Regions from separate parts of the Homo sapiens genome. Here all the other regions are linked to region 1. The links are contacts of gene promoters, found by promoter capture Hi-C in blood cells and fetal thymus (Javierre and others, 2016). All regions are on one chromosome and are shown on one strand. Each heading gives the region's core, a stretch centred on a gene start or on the middle of the fragment in contact. The rest is flanking DNA. Distances are from core to core; before and after follow the strand shown. Region 1 holds the start of EFCAB12 (EF-hand calcium binding domain 12). Region 2 overlaps TMCC1 (transmembrane and coiled-coil domain family 1). Region 3 has its middle 38 kb from the start of PLXND1.

Region 1 (4,921 bases), core at 770-3,269:
GCCTCCCAAAGTGCTAGGATTACAGGCGTGAGCCACGGCGCCCGGCCGGGGATCTTTTTTTATTATTTATTTTTAATTGAGACAGGGTCTTGCTCTGTTCCCCAAGCTGGAGTACAGTGGCTCAATCATAGCTCACTGCAGCCTTGAACTCCTGGGCTCAAATGATCCTCCCAGCTCAGCCTCCTGAGTAGCTGGGACTACAGGTGCATGCCATTAAGCCTAGCTAACCTTTTTTTTTTTTTTTTTTTTGAGATGGTGTCTTGCTCTGTCACCCAGGCTGGAGTGCAATGGCATGATCTTGGCTCACTGCAAGCTCCACCTCCCTGGTTCATGCCATTCTCCTGCCTCAGCCTCCTGAGTAGCTGTGACTACAGGCGCCTGCCACCATGCCCGGCTAATTTTTTGTATTTTTAGTAGAGACGGGGTTTCATTGTGTTAGCCAGGATGGTCTTGATCTCCTGACCTCGTGATCCACCCACCTCAGCCTCCTAAAGTGCTGGGATTACAGGCGTGAGCCACCCCACCAGGCCTGGCTAACTTTAAAAAACAATTTTGTAGAGATGGGATCTCACTATGTTGCCCAGGCTATTCTCAAACTCCTGGGCTCAAGCAATCCTCCTGCCTCAGCTTCCCATAGTGCTGGGATTACAGGCGTGAGATACTGTGCCCAGCTACTGACAAGGATCTTAAACTCAACCAACCAAGACTGGATTTGTCTTTGTGCCCCTTCCCCCACTAACTGGGTCCTCTGAGTACGTTCTCTTATCTCTGTGGAAGACATCTCCATCTACCAGGTCCCCCAGCTGCCAACTTGAGAACCATCTTTATTTGCCTCTTCTGTGTTTCCTGACCAACCAGCCCCCAAGTCCCGTAGTTCCCTCTAGCCTGGGCCTTCTCCCTCACCTCCCAGCATCTTTAGCTTGGGCATTTGACCAGAGCCCTGACCTGTGTGCCTGGGAAAGGTGGCCAGCCTCTCCAGCTCTCCCTGTTTCTCCACTGGGCATTAATGTGTTCAGTGCTGGAGAAGCGGCATGGAGAAGACCTTCAGTCTTCAAGCTTTATAGCCCCCAGCTCTCATCTCCCCACACCAACATTCTGAGTCTGCCAACTCAGTCTCAGGTCTTTTCTGACTGCTCCCAATCCAGTCCTGCCACTCCCAGTGGCCTCTCCATCTCCTGGCTTGCAGTATCTTTTATGATCTTGTCCCTTCTGACCTCTCTCACCTCATTTCCAGAGACACCAGACCTCTTGGGTCATGCTGTTTCCTTGCCCGAAATGCTTTTCCTTCCCCTTTTGGCTTGGAGAACTCCTTTTTATCCTTTAAGCTCCAGTGTAAAGATCTTTTCCAAAAGCTTGGAACTGTTCCTCCCCATCCCATACCCTCAGCACACCTTTTACTCCTGGGTGTCATCCCTGGGCCCGGCATTTACCCCTTCTTATTCTGTAATTATCCATTTATCTCTGTCCTTTACCCGTGAAGCTGCATTGCTTTGCCAAGAACTTGGTCCCCAGCACATTACTGCCAAAACCTTGAAGACTGACGTCTTCTCCATGCCTCTCCTCCAGTACTGAATACATTAATGTCCTGCAGAGAAACAGGGCGAGCTGGAGGGCTCCCGTCACATGGGTCGGGCCTCTGGTTCCTCCAACTAGGCTCAGATAGAAATCTCAGAAATGTACATGACCTGCCCCCGACTCCATGGCAACCCTTCACCCAGAGGGGGTCGGCACAATATCTGTGGCTGAGTTTTTGCCCTCACCCCACTTTCACGCGTCCTTAGGGCGCTGAGCGCTCCCTGCAGACGCTTCTTCCCGGGGCTTACCGAGCAGCGACAAGAACAGACTGTGGTACGCTTCATAGTCGTCGTCCATGGTCGTGGTGCTGGGAGGGGGTGCTGAAGGGCGTGTGTGAATGTGTGTCGATGTGGGCTTGCTTGCGTAGGGGTACCGGGGTATCAGATAAACCGTAACTCCAAGTCGTGCGAAAGGCGCTCAGCTCAGACTGCAGAAGCAACCTGTTGCCGTGGCTACGGACGCCCCGCGCCAATTGGCTGAGCGCTGTCACGTGTTAAGAGCGAGCCCGCCCTGCCGAGCGCCTGCTGGCCCCACCTCGTTTTCGTCCAATTCTGGGAGGGGCAGCGAGCAAATCCACGCCCCGCCCAGTTCTGGGCTTGGTGAAAGGCGGGATTTCTTTGTTCGGCCCAGTAGTCCCTGAATCCAGTGTAGAAAGTCTCCGGTTTTCCCGTGAAATGTGGGATCTTCCGCAGGTCTCCATATCTCTAGGCCTCAGTTTTCTCATAGGAAAAATAGGCCCTGCCTCCTCCAGAGGGTTAGGAAGAACCAAAGTGAGCTGTGGCCAGATAGAGGTGTTGGGTATGTTCTGCCCCGCTTATGGCAGGGTGCCATGGTTTGGAGTTACAGAACCTGAGGACCAGAGAATAATAATAAACCCTTGAAATGTGCATCAACTGATAAGCAAAATGAGGTATATCCATAGGATGGCCATAAGAAGGAATGAAGTACATGCTACAATATGGATAAACCTTCAAAACAGTATGCTAAGCAAGAAGCTAGACACAAAAGGCCACGTGCTGTATGATTCCATTTATGTGAAATGTTCAGCATAGACGAACCCACAGACACGGAAAGTAGATGAATGGTTGCTAGGGGATGGGGTGAGTAATTGAAGTGACTGCTAACAGGTGGAGAGATTCTTTTTGGAGTGGAAAAAAGAAATGGAAACTTCTGGAATTAGTGATGATGGCTGCACACTGTAAATGTACTAAACCACTGAACTGTACACTTTAAAATGGTTAAATGGTGGCTTTTAGCTCAATTTTTAAAAAGTTAAAGAGAAACACCTAAGCCCTTATTCCTTTGCTGAGACAAGCTATCTTTGTGACGCTTGCAAACAGATTGTTGCCATGGGCCACATTCACACAGCACTCTTGCAAGCCAGGTACCATTTTAGCACTACATGTCTGAACTTCATAATTACCATCATTGTGTGAGGTAGACACCACTATCCCATTTTTAAAAGACAAGTTAACAGGTACAGAGGTCAGGCAACCTCACCTGCAAGAAACAGGAAAAGCCAGGCCTAGAGCCTGAGCAACCTGGCTGTGTCCTGAGCTCCCCTGGTGCAGAGCTCGCCTCCTGCATTCACACGGGCCCACACTCCCCATGGAGATGCTGGGGGAAGGTATGTGACCACCAGCCCTACCACAAAGCCACACCTGATGCCCTGAGCTTGGTGAGCTCGCCCCACCCTCCAGGCCCAGCTGGGCCCAAGGTTTCAGAGGCCCCTCTCCACCCTCTTTGGGTGTCTTGTCCCTACTCCTTACCGCTTTTGTTCCCTTCCATTATTAGGTGCCCTTCTTTCTCTCTGTGAGGGTCTGTACAGAACTTGTTTATCTTTGTGCCCCTCCCCACCACAGGGCTTTACACTTTGTGAATGCTACTTGGATGTTTGTTAAATGAAAATGTGATGGTAAACTATAAAGTGGGTTTGCCTTGGGGAGAGGGAGGTGTGGCCAGTTTTCCTGTTCTCTGGTCAAAATCTATCCTTCTAAAAACTGACACTCACTAAAGTGGAAACAACCAACTACCTCTGCATCACACTGCAGCCTGATTCGGTTCACACTGCCCTACAACAAAGGCAGTTTCCTGAACAACTGATTTATTTTTCATTTATTCAATCAATTTAATTTTCAAATTATACCTTAAAATGGTAGTTGGTAATTAAGACATAGTAACTAGTTTTTTCCCTTGGTTTCTTTCTAATAGTAAATGCTTTGGTATTTGAACTGTAACAATACTTGTAATAAAAATGGCATTAAGACTTATTTTTTTTAAGACAGGGTCTTGCTGTGTCATCCAGGCTGAAGTGCAGTGGTGTGATCATAGCTCACTGCAGCCTCAATCTCCTGGGCTCAAGGGATTCTCCCACCTCAGCCTTCTGAGTAGCTGGGACCACAAGTGTATGTCACCATGCCCAATTAATTTTTAAAATTTTTTGTAGAGACGGGGTCTCATTATGTTGCCCAGTCTGGTTTTGAACTCCTGGGCTCAAGCAATCCTCCTGCCTCAGCCTCCCAAAGTGCTAGGATTACAGGTGTAAGCCACTGTGCCTGGCCAAATGGTATAAACTCCAAATGGAAGATGAGAAATGAGTTTTCACAAAGGGACCAAGGTAAAAGAGTGAGTGAGCTGAAATGGAGCAGCAGGCCCATATTCACATTAGGTTATCAAATGGATACTGGGGTGGAATCTACAATTCCTAAGAGCTAGTGTGGAGCTGTCAACAATACACAATGCCAGAGGAATCTTATTTGTCTTTGGGGTCAGCTTTTATTTTTATTTTTTAAATATATATTTTTTGAGACAGGGTCTCTCTCTGTCATCCAGACTGGAGTGCAGTGGCATGATCATGGCTCACTGAAGCCTTGACCTCCTGGGCCCTCATGAGCTCAAATGATCCTCCTGCCTCAGCCTTCCGAGATTACAGGCATGCACCACCACGCCTAGCCGATAAAAATATTTAGTGGGCCCCTAGCTTTAGCAAGGCTGATAGAAATTTGCTTTGTATTATTGATAGTTTAGAACTATTTTTCATCTTCTGATTATATTTCATCATTGGAAAAGCCGTATTTTTTTTGGATTGTTGTCAAATAATAATTTATTTTAAAAAAATCTCAAAACATGTTCAAACACATTCAGTAGCAAAGATCCACCATTGGCACACACATTAAGAAAGCACACACACTAGGCTTCTAGTTGGGCTAATTAAAATCTCTATGGCTGGAAAGGTGGTTGGTTGTACTTAATTAAGCTTTTTTGAAGTGCAAAGCTATGCATAACAGATGAGCTTGAAAGCTGCAGAGTTTAAGATAGACTTAATTTTTCATGATTTTCCCAAAGC
Region 2 (4,921 bases), core at 812-3,311, 230 kb after region 1:
CAAGGGATCCTCCCACCTCAGCCTTCTGAGTAGCTGGGACTACTGACATGCACCACCAAGCCTGGCTATTTTTTTTTTTCAGAGACAGGGTCTCACTATGTTGCCCAGGCTGGTCTTGAACTCCTGAGCTCAAGCAATCCTCCTGCCTCAGCTTCCCAAAGTGCTGAGACTACAGGTGTGGGGCACCACACCTGGCTATTTTCATCTTTCAAACTATAGATACTTTAAATTTTGTGGTATATTTGCCTTCACAACGTATTGATTTTAACAACAATAAAGGGGGGCAAGGAGGTACACAAAATAGTGGTAATTTAAGAACTATGTAAAATCAGGTGTGAAATATTGGGATTCACTTGGTATGTGAGGTGGTGAGGAATATATATGAATCAGAGAATACTTGCAAAAGTCCTCAGCACTTATTCCCAACACTTTTGAACCTTACAATAAACCAATGTTTATCATAAGAAGGTTGCAAACCTGTCAAAGGTTCTGGAAGTCATTTTCAAACTAGATTTTGGTTCATCCCATATTATGTCTAGAGGTGCTCCATCTTCACTCCTGCCATTTTGCACCTAGAAATGTTTTCATAATGCAGTTTGTACCAGCTAATGCATGTGCTCAGTCCAGGTTTTGGATTAAAATCCCAGCTCTGCAACTCGCTAGCTTGGGTGATCCTTTTCATCCTCTATAAAGAGGAAATCTACCTACTCCAAAGGGCAATTGCAAAGATTAAAGGAGAAGACAGACATCAAATACCTGGCACACAAGAGGTGCTCTGTGAGACAGATATATCACAAATATACATTTGGTTTCATTTTTCTCTTTTGTGAGTCTCCTAGTTCTCCCCAACAATCCCTAGCGAGGTAGTTCAAAAAGATTGCTTGTTGACTGCCACATAGTCTTACTCCACTGTTCACTGATTCCCACTTCTGACTTTTTTCTCTAAGCCTTTGTTGTTGTTGTTTGTTTGAGACAGGGTTTTCTCTGTCGCCCAGGTTGGAGTGCAGTGGCGTGATCGTGGCTCATTGTGGTCTCAATCTCCTAGGCTCTAGTGACCCTTCCACCTCAGCCTCCCAAGCAGCTGGGACTACAGGCATGTGCCACCACGCCCGGTTAATTTTGTTTTTGTATTTTCTGTAGAGACGGGGTTTCGCCATGTTACCCAGGCTGGTCTTGAATTCCTGGATTGAAGTGATCTTCCTGCCTTGGCCTCCCAAAGTGCTGGGATTACAGGCATGAGCCACTGTCCATGGCCTTAAGTCTTCATTTCTTTATGTCCACTTTCCCAATTTTATATATTTTGACATTTTCACTGTTTTCAGTATATTTATGATGTTTTTCCTATGACATCACAGAAATGGGTTTACTGGGCACACACTCCATCCTCCTCAATCCTAGATACAAGCCTCTTTTACTTCTTATTTCATACATCTAGGTTCCTGCCATTTCCCTGGCTCAAGTTTGCCAGATAATTCAAATAGTTCCATGCACTGGCCATTTCCAAACTTTCCTTTGTACTGGTGAAACTATCTACCTATGTATGTGTGTGAGGAAAGGTGTCTCAAGTAATTTTTATTTTTTTATTTTAGAGACAGAGTCTCACTATGTTGTCCATGCTGGAGTACAGTGGTTATTCAGAGGCATAATCATGGTGCACTGCAGCCTCAAACTCCTGGGCTCAAGTGATCCTCCCATCTCAGCCTCCTGAGTAGCTGGGACTACAGACCTGTGCCATTGTGCCCAGCTCAAGTAAATTTTATCTAATTTTTTCAAATCTCCAAAAAGAGTTATATAGAAACTGCTAATCCTCACCATGCTCTTACAGAAAATAAAGTCCTTTAGAGGTTGAACAATTTATTCACAGTTACATGGGAAATTAACAGCAAGTTCTTCTCAAGCTGAGTCTTCCCAAATAAGAAAATGTAACTATTGTTCACAGAGATAATGCTTTGTTAGCAAGCAGCTAAATAGCAAAGCAGCATTTGGGTAAGTAGAATGATCTCAGCAGATGAAACAGACAAACATGGAGACCAATCTGGGCAAAATAGCAAAACCCTGTCTTTACAAAAAATACAAAAATTAGCTGGGCATAGTGGCATGCACCTGCAGTCCCAGCTACTCAGGAGGCTGAGGTGGGAGGATCACTTGAGCCCGAGAGGTCAAGGCTGCAGTGAGCCGAGACTGTGTCACTACCCTCCAGTCTGGGTGACAGAGCAAGAACCTGTCTCAAACAAACAGAAAAACCCACAAACAAAAACAGGAGTCCCAGAAGGATGCAGTGACTCCCTAGTTAGTAGTGAGGTTTAATAAGGATCTGAACCAATTGGCTTGTGCCTGTTATTAGATTATTGTCTTTTTAAAAACTTTTTGACTGGGCAAATTGCTTGACCCCAGGAGTTTCAGACCAGCTTGGGCAACATGGTGAAACCCTGTCTCTACTAAAAATACAAAAAAAATCAGGTTGGTGTGGTGGCATGTGCCTGTAATCCCAGCTACTTGGGAGGCTGAGGTGAGAGGACTGCTTCAGCATGGAAGGCAGAGGTGCAGTGAGCTGAGACTGTGCCACTGCACTCCAGCCTGGGTGACAGAGTAAGACCTTGTCTCAAAGAGAAGACAAAAAAATTCTGTATTGTTAATGAAATGCAAATAACGAAAGGAAAAAAAAACCTGTATTCTAGTTCCCACTGACTTCCCACTATCCCCATTACTAATATTATAATCTTCTTAGCACACTTTATTTTCTAGTGTTTACTTCCTGTCTAAATTCTAAAATGGAGAAACCAGGTACAAATACCTCTATCTTCTCATTAAATATTAACACCAAGCCAAACAGTAGGGGAGAAAAAGGGAAGATACATGTTTTATAGACTTTCATATGTGAAAGTCTTGGGTTTTTTTTAAACCTAGAACTCTGCTTTAAGGAATTTTAACCCCTTTACAGGATGCTAAATAGAACTCTCCAGACACAAATCGGGGCAGAGGAGATGGTGGGTGGGTGGGAGGTTCTTAATCATACAAGAACAGTCATGCCTCACTTAATGATGGGGACACATCTTGAGAAATGAGTTGTTACGTTATTTTATCACTATGTGAACACCATACAGTGTACTTACACAAATCTAGATAGTACAGCCTATGATACACTTAGGCTGTATGGTACAGTCAATTGTTCCTAGGCTACAAAGCTGTACAGCAAGTTACTGTACCATAGGCAACTGCAGACAGCTGTAATACAATAGTGTTTGTGTATCTAGACATATCTAAACATAGAAAAGGCACACTAAAAATATGGCATTACAGGCTTGGTAGTGCATGCCTGTAATCCCAGCTGCTTGGAAGCTGAGGCACGACAATTGCTTGAAACCGTGAGGCAGAGGTTTCAGTGAGCCGAGACTGTACCACTGCACTCCAGCCTGGGCAAGAGTGAGACTCCATCTCAAAAAAACAAAACAAAACAAAAACAGCATTATAAACTTATGAAACAACTGTCTTATATGTTGTTGATCAAAATGTCATTATTCAGCACATGACTATGTGTGATTTTGGCTGGCAAATGATGTTCACGCACCTCCGCTTGGATTACAAGTAGCATGAGATTAATAATCTTATTTTAAGGATTTTTACTCAAGGTCCTTCCTAAATTGTTACAACCCAAAGAGAACCTGGACACTTAAATATGGCATGAGCTTAACTATCAGCAAACAGAAAGCCTTTGCACTGTAAGATTATTTTTTCTAAAAGCAAGTATCATATTTTGGTAGATGAAATTCATCCCCCACTGGAAGCAAAACCTGTTCTATCTACAAAGTATTAAACACATCAAGATTTTGTCGTAGGTAAATAATTCATAAATAAATACTAAACTTGAAAGTGTTTTGGTCACTAGGTCAACACAGTAGTCAACTTCCTAGATCAGAGATGAGCCAGGGGCCTTTTGTGTCAAATTACTGATGAATGGGAGCCTGGGTGAGTACACAGCCTGGGAATGCTTTGACCTGAAGCATTCCTCTTTGGGTGTGGCTCAAAAGTTTGGAGCCATCTCTGAGAACCAATGGTGCTTCCCTAGTTCGGCAATAGGTCACTAGCACAGGATAGCTGAAGAAACTTGTGGAGCAGGTATTGAGAGAAACAGGAAGAACTAGGTCCCAGGAAAAACACCCACAGGCAACTATGGGAGAAGAATGGACTATTTCCCAAATGCATACCAGAGACCCAAAATAGCTTCTGCCAGTGTTTGACCAGAGTAGAGAGACACAGTTGGGGTAGGGAGTATGACTTGCGGTGGGAGTTTGAATAGGTTCCTAGCTGAATTGGGGAGAGTGGATTTTTTTCTCCTTACCTTTTGTTACCTTTTTTGTGTTGAAGCCTGAAAAGAAGCTAAAAAACACTGAACTAGCCTTCAGCTGAAAAGGGAAAAAGATATCAGTCCCCCACAATATTTCAAGGGTAGGCAATGAATTATCTTAATGACAAGAAAACAGTAAATATCTAAATAATACAGGAAATAAATAAAAACTAGAGGGGCTTTCTGGGCAACTTGCAGACTTGGTAATGACAGCTTTCTAACATTCTGGCACAACCCAGATCTTTGTATTCCCCTAGAAAAAATGGAGGAGGAGGGAGCATTTGTTGAGCTCCTACTCTAAACCAAACATCACACTAGGTACTTCCATATATGTTATCTCCTTTAATAACTTCAACAACCATGTACAATAAATATCATTACATTTTTACAGAGGGAGAAACTGAGGCTCAGATGAGTTATGTAATCTACTCAGAGCTGGCAAGCAAATTCAAGTTTGTCCACTCCAAGGAATAAGGGTTAATTAATTAATCCCCTCCATTCCTCTTTAGCGGCTAAACGCTAAACTGGGATGAGCTCACCCATAAATCTCTTTTATGGAAGATTGTATACGTCATA
Region 3 (4,921 bases), core at 1,548-4,047, 220 kb after region 1:
TCAGAGAGCACGGGGTTGGGGGTAAGGTTATAGATTAACAGAATCTCAAGGCAGAAGAATTTTTCTTAGTACAGAACAAAATGGAGTCTCCCATGTCTACTTCTTTCTACACAGACACAGTAACAATCTGATCTCTCTTGCTTTTCCCCACAGAGCAAAACTCACAGATTTCATGAAGAATGTGAATATGCCCAATTACCATCATTTGCTCCCATTAATGTGCTATATGTCAATACCATGACTCCTTATTTTTATTTTTTACTTTTAGGTTCAGGGGTACATGTGCAGGATGTGCAGGTTTGTTACATAGGTAAACGTGTGTCATGGGGATTGGTTGTACAGATTATTTCATCACCCAGATTATTTCATCCATTAGTTATTATTTTCCTGCTTCTCTCCCTCCTTCCGCCCTCCAGATTCCTTATATTTTATTTTCTCTTTTAGATTCTGAAATACTTCATACAGTAAGAATACTGGTACCCACCACCATGCAGACATTTTGTACATTTGCCTCAAATCCATCCCCTGCTCCCCCTCCCCTCTGCCACACACACAATCCTGTTATGGTCATGCCTAGATTTCAGCTATAAATTCCCACCTTGTCCTGTCCTGATGTTTAACCCTTTCGGTGGCCATGGCCAATGCTCATAGGGAGATCGTGAGCTCGGCACCAAATAATTGTTTTATTATTTGATTGCTGGAGGAGAACTAAGGTGACTTTACAGCAGGGACACAGAGATCCAGAAGAAGTCAGATCCTTGCCTTCTCAAGATTACACAAAGTCTGAAATCCACAATTCTTGATTCCTTGCCCAACAAAATGGAATAGCAGAAATTGCATGGGCTTTAGAATCAAACTCAACCAAGTTCAAATCCTGACTTTGCCATTTACTAGTGAAACAGCTTGTCCACAAGATAAAATGCAAACAACCTTCCCAAGCTTTTGGTTTCATCTGAAAAATGGAAGTTATACCACCTCCTCTTTAGAACGGTTGAAACAATCAGAAGCATAACAAGTGGCACTGTGCCTGGCACAGAATAGGGACTCAATTAATAGCAATTTTTTAAGTTCCACTTTTTAATGAGCACCAATTCTGGGCCAGGCATTGTTTCAGGCACTTAGGACATAGCCACAAACTGACAACGTCCCTGTCACTGTGCTGGTTAAGAAATTATAAGTAAAATAGATTATCAGCCAATTATATGTGTATTCACTCGCAAAGGCTTTTTTGTTTCGTTTTGTTTTGTTTTTGAGATAGAGTCTATGTTGCCCAGGCTAGTCTTGAACTCTGGGCCTCAACCAATCCACCTGCCTTGGCCTCCCAAAGTGTTGAGATTACAGGCGTGAGCCACTGTGCCTGGCCCCATTTGCGAGTTTTTGTTCTTATGGACACGATATTCTTTTCTTGTCCCCATGGCCAGCCCATTCTCTGACACATACTGATTTTTTGGTTCCCCAAACCAACTTAAGAGCCAGGGCTGGCTGAGGATAGCCCAAATTCTGGCTACTGGGCTCTTCGTTGGTAAGAATGGGAGATGTGCTATATTCTGAAGAGAGTTAGATGAGTGACACAGGTGCCTGTCCTCTAGGAATTCTCAGTCTACTAATAATCAAGATCATGGTATAGCACTTTCTCTTGCCAGATGCTGGGCTAGGCTCTGTACAATTTTCATTTAATCCTCATAACCTTCACAACCTTCTGTTAAGGTAAAGTGGTTATTAAAATTCTTAAAAGAGGCCAGGCGCGGTGGTTCATGCCTATAATCCCAGCACTTTGGGAGGCTGAGGTGGGTGGATCACCTGAGGTCAGGAGTTCGAGACCAGCGACCAGCCTGGCCAACATGGTGAAACCCCGTCTCTACTAAAAAATACAAAAAATTAGCTCGGTGTGGTGGCACAGGCCTATAATCCCAGCTACTTGGGAGGCTGAGGCAGGAGAATCACTTGAACCTGGGAGATGGAGGTTGCAGTGAGCCAAGATCGTGCCACTGCACTCCAGCCTGGGCGACAGAGCAAGACTCTGTCAAAATAAAATGAGATGAAATAAAATAAAATAAAATACTTAAAATAAAAACTTTAGACAAGTTAAATTTAACAAAGAATGATTCATGAATTGGGCAGCCCCTAAGACCAGGACAGGTCAGTGAGAGTCTGGGGCTGCCATATGGCTAAGTAACATTTATGGACAGAAAAAGGCAAGTGGTGTATAAAAAATTGAAGTGAGGTATGCAGACCTCACTTATTCTTGTTAAACTTATTCTGGGCTTGTACCTTATTTCAACAGTTGGCTGCCTGTGGTTGACTGAAGTTCGGCTGCTGTGATTGGCGGAGACTTGGCTACTCGTTACAAGAGTAGGTTCCAATCTGCTTATGCCTGGCTAGGTTACAGTTCCCTATGTATGGAGAAACCTTTAGGCCAAACTTAAGATATGTACAGAAGCAGCTTTAGGCAAAATTTAACATAATTCATTTTCATCATGATTTGTTGCACCTTTTAATACAGTCTCGAAAACTATTGAACTGAATTCTTTCAACAGATAAAGAATATTCTCTTGAACAGCTTAAACATTCAGTAAGACAGAAGCATGAATAAATTTTGTCAAGTACTCTTGCTCTGGGATTTAAGGATTGTAATACCAAAGGTGACAGGGATTTTTTTTTTTTTTTTGAGATGGAGTCTTGCTCTGTCGCTAGGCTGGAGTGCAGTGGCGTGATCTCGGCTCACTGCAACCTCCGCCTCCCAGGTTCAAGCAATTCTCCTGCCTCAGCCTCCCAAGTAGCTGGGACTACAGGTGAGTGCCACCACGCCCAGCTAATTTTTGTACTTTTAGTAGTGACGGGGTTTCACCATGTTGGCCAGAATGGTCTCCATCTCTTGACCTCGTGATCCGCCTGCCTCGGCCTCCCAAAGTGCTGGGATTACAGGCGTGAGCCACAGCGCCTGGCCCAGGGATTTTTTTTTTTTAAAAGAACTGAACTCTGAGTTGCCTACACCCTTTTTCCACTTATCAAAAAACTGTGAAGAGCCTCTACTTACAGGATCAATAGGCAAAAGACCAAATACCTTGGACACCATTCCTCAAACACCCAACTGATTGGGATGACCTGAAAAACAGGTTTCTGGTTTCTTCTCAAAGGGCTGTAATTAAACAGAAGGCTGGGTCACCTTTCAACACCTGTAATGGCTTCTCTTGTAGTCACAAGGTAAACCTTTAGCGTGGTATTCAAGATTTCTTGCAACTTGGCCCCCACATATGATTCTCACACATTCTTTCAGGCACCCTACCAGTCACTTAAGGCTCCTTATCCATTGCTTGAACTGCTCACCTAGGCCGTTTTCACCTCTGTGGTTTTGCTAATACCTCCAATAGAAATGCCCCCTCACCTATTTCTGCTCATCATAAAGCCACCATCTTTCAGTCCAGATACCATGGCCTCCTCCGTTGAGCCTTTCCCTATTGCTCTGTTAGAATTGCTTCCTCCTCTTTGCTCCCACACGTCTTCTGCCTCTTTACCACATGTATTTCATTCTACTAAGTTCCTTTTTCCACAGCCCAGTCTTGTATAGAGTGGCTCTTAAGTGCTGCTGGCTAAATAGGAGGTACCAGCTGCTGCTGTCACCTCTGCACGTGCTCCTCCTTCTCAGCCCGCAGGGCTTCTGGCAGCGGGACATCTATGTGACCCCCAAGCCTAGAAATCCAGGGCTGGAAGAAAGCTCAAGGGGTGGCCCAAACTTGGTCTAGAGCCCCCTCTAAGGCAATCTGGAGGCAAAAGATGGTCTAGTATGATCTGTCATTAGGAACACTATCAATTCTTTTTTCACTTCTCACTGGACCTATTTTTAAGTTTTTGATATATTTAATTTAAAAAATACACAAATACATTTTCTTCAAAGAGATTCATACTTTATAGAAGCCAAGCATGAAAGTGCTGCTTAACCACTGTTCCTCCCTCTCCCTTCCCAAAATAACGGGAAAGTTTAATGCAAAGTTTTTACACATCCACATGCATATATTTACACAAATATACATATTCTCAACATAAATGGGAGACAATATATTGTTCCACAGTTGGCTTTTTAAATCTTAATGCACTGATTATACAGGAGGCTGAACAATTTTCTGGTATGCTTATTGGTCATTTTTCTTTTCTTTTTTTTTTTTTGAGACAGAGTCTCGCTCTGTCGCCCTGGCTGCTGGAGTGCAGCGACACCATCTCGGCTCACTGCAAGCTCCGCTTCCTGGGTTCACGCCATTCTCCTGCCTCAGCCTCCCGAGTAGCTGGGACTACAGGCGCCTACCACCATGCCCGGCTAATTTTTTTGTCTTTTTAGTAGAGACGGGGTTTCACCATGTTAGCCAGGATGGTCTCGATCTCCTGACCTCGTGATCCACCCGCCTCAGCCTCCCAAAGTGCTGGGATTACAGGCGTGAGCCACCGCGCCCAGCCGCTTATTGGTCATTTTTCTATAAGCTCTCTGTTTATAACTATTGCCTGTCTTTTCTATTGAGCTGTTACCAATAGGAAAGATGATTATTGATTTGTAGTCTTAAATATTGTGGACGCTCATTTTTTGTTATATATGTCGCATAGACCTATTTTCCATTGCATTAATTTACCATTTCCTAACATTAATTTTGGGCAAGCCATTTAACCCAAGCTTCAGAGTTCTTACCTAAACAATGAGGATATCTCCTGCATAAGACTGTGGGGGAGAATTGACTGATAAAACTGAATGATGTCTGGCACTCAGTAAATACTCAATAAACGTTAGCTATTCTTCACTATAGACTTGGGGCTACAAGTCAGCTAAATGTTTAGTTTGGACCATAGGATTTAAGTATATTTGAACCCTTCAGGTGAAGCATGCATTTCTAGTTGACCATACCTTCCTCTGCCTCCCCAATCTGTTTTCTACACC

The links. The method cuts DNA at HindIII sites, captures the fragments that hold promoters and counts their contacts. A CHiCAGO score of 5 or more calls a contact.
Region 2: a contact is called between a fragment that was not itself captured here and the fragment with the promoter of EFCAB12 in region 1, in 1 of 17 cell types (M2 macrophages). The highest score is 6.0, in M2 macrophages.
Region 3: a fragment that was not itself captured here is called in contact with the fragment with the promoter of EFCAB12 in region 1 in 1 of 17 cell types (M2 macrophages); the score reaches 6.5 in M2 macrophages.

What each region holds. Positions count from the first base shown.
Region 1 is chr3:129,426,617-129,431,537 of GRCh38, forward strand. It overlaps EFCAB12 (EF-hand calcium binding domain 12), which reads right to left and starts at 2,020. Exons shown (of 9, transcript NM_207307.3): 1 at 1,824-2,020. The coding sequence starts at 1,872. MBD4 (methyl-CpG binding domain 4, DNA glycosylase) reads right to left here. Exons shown (of 8, transcript NM_001276270.2): 8 at 4,331-4,921. The coding sequence ends at 4,885. RefSeq lists a silencer at 2,157-2,206. The HindIII fragment of the contact is 3,479 bases long and covers 1,351-4,829 here.
Region 2 is chr3:129,659,198-129,664,118 of GRCh38, forward strand. All of the region lies in intron 5 of TMCC1 (transmembrane and coiled-coil domain family 1), which reads right to left. Among named protein-coding and RNA genes, the nearest start is that of PLXND1, 55 kb to the left of the region's middle. The HindIII fragment of the contact is 6,636 bases long and covers 1-4,921 here.
Region 3 is chr3:129,641,911-129,646,831 of GRCh38, forward strand. No RefSeq gene overlaps it. Among named protein-coding and RNA genes, the nearest start is that of PLXND1, 38 kb to the left of the region's middle. The HindIII fragment of the contact is 3,721 bases long and covers 938-4,658 here.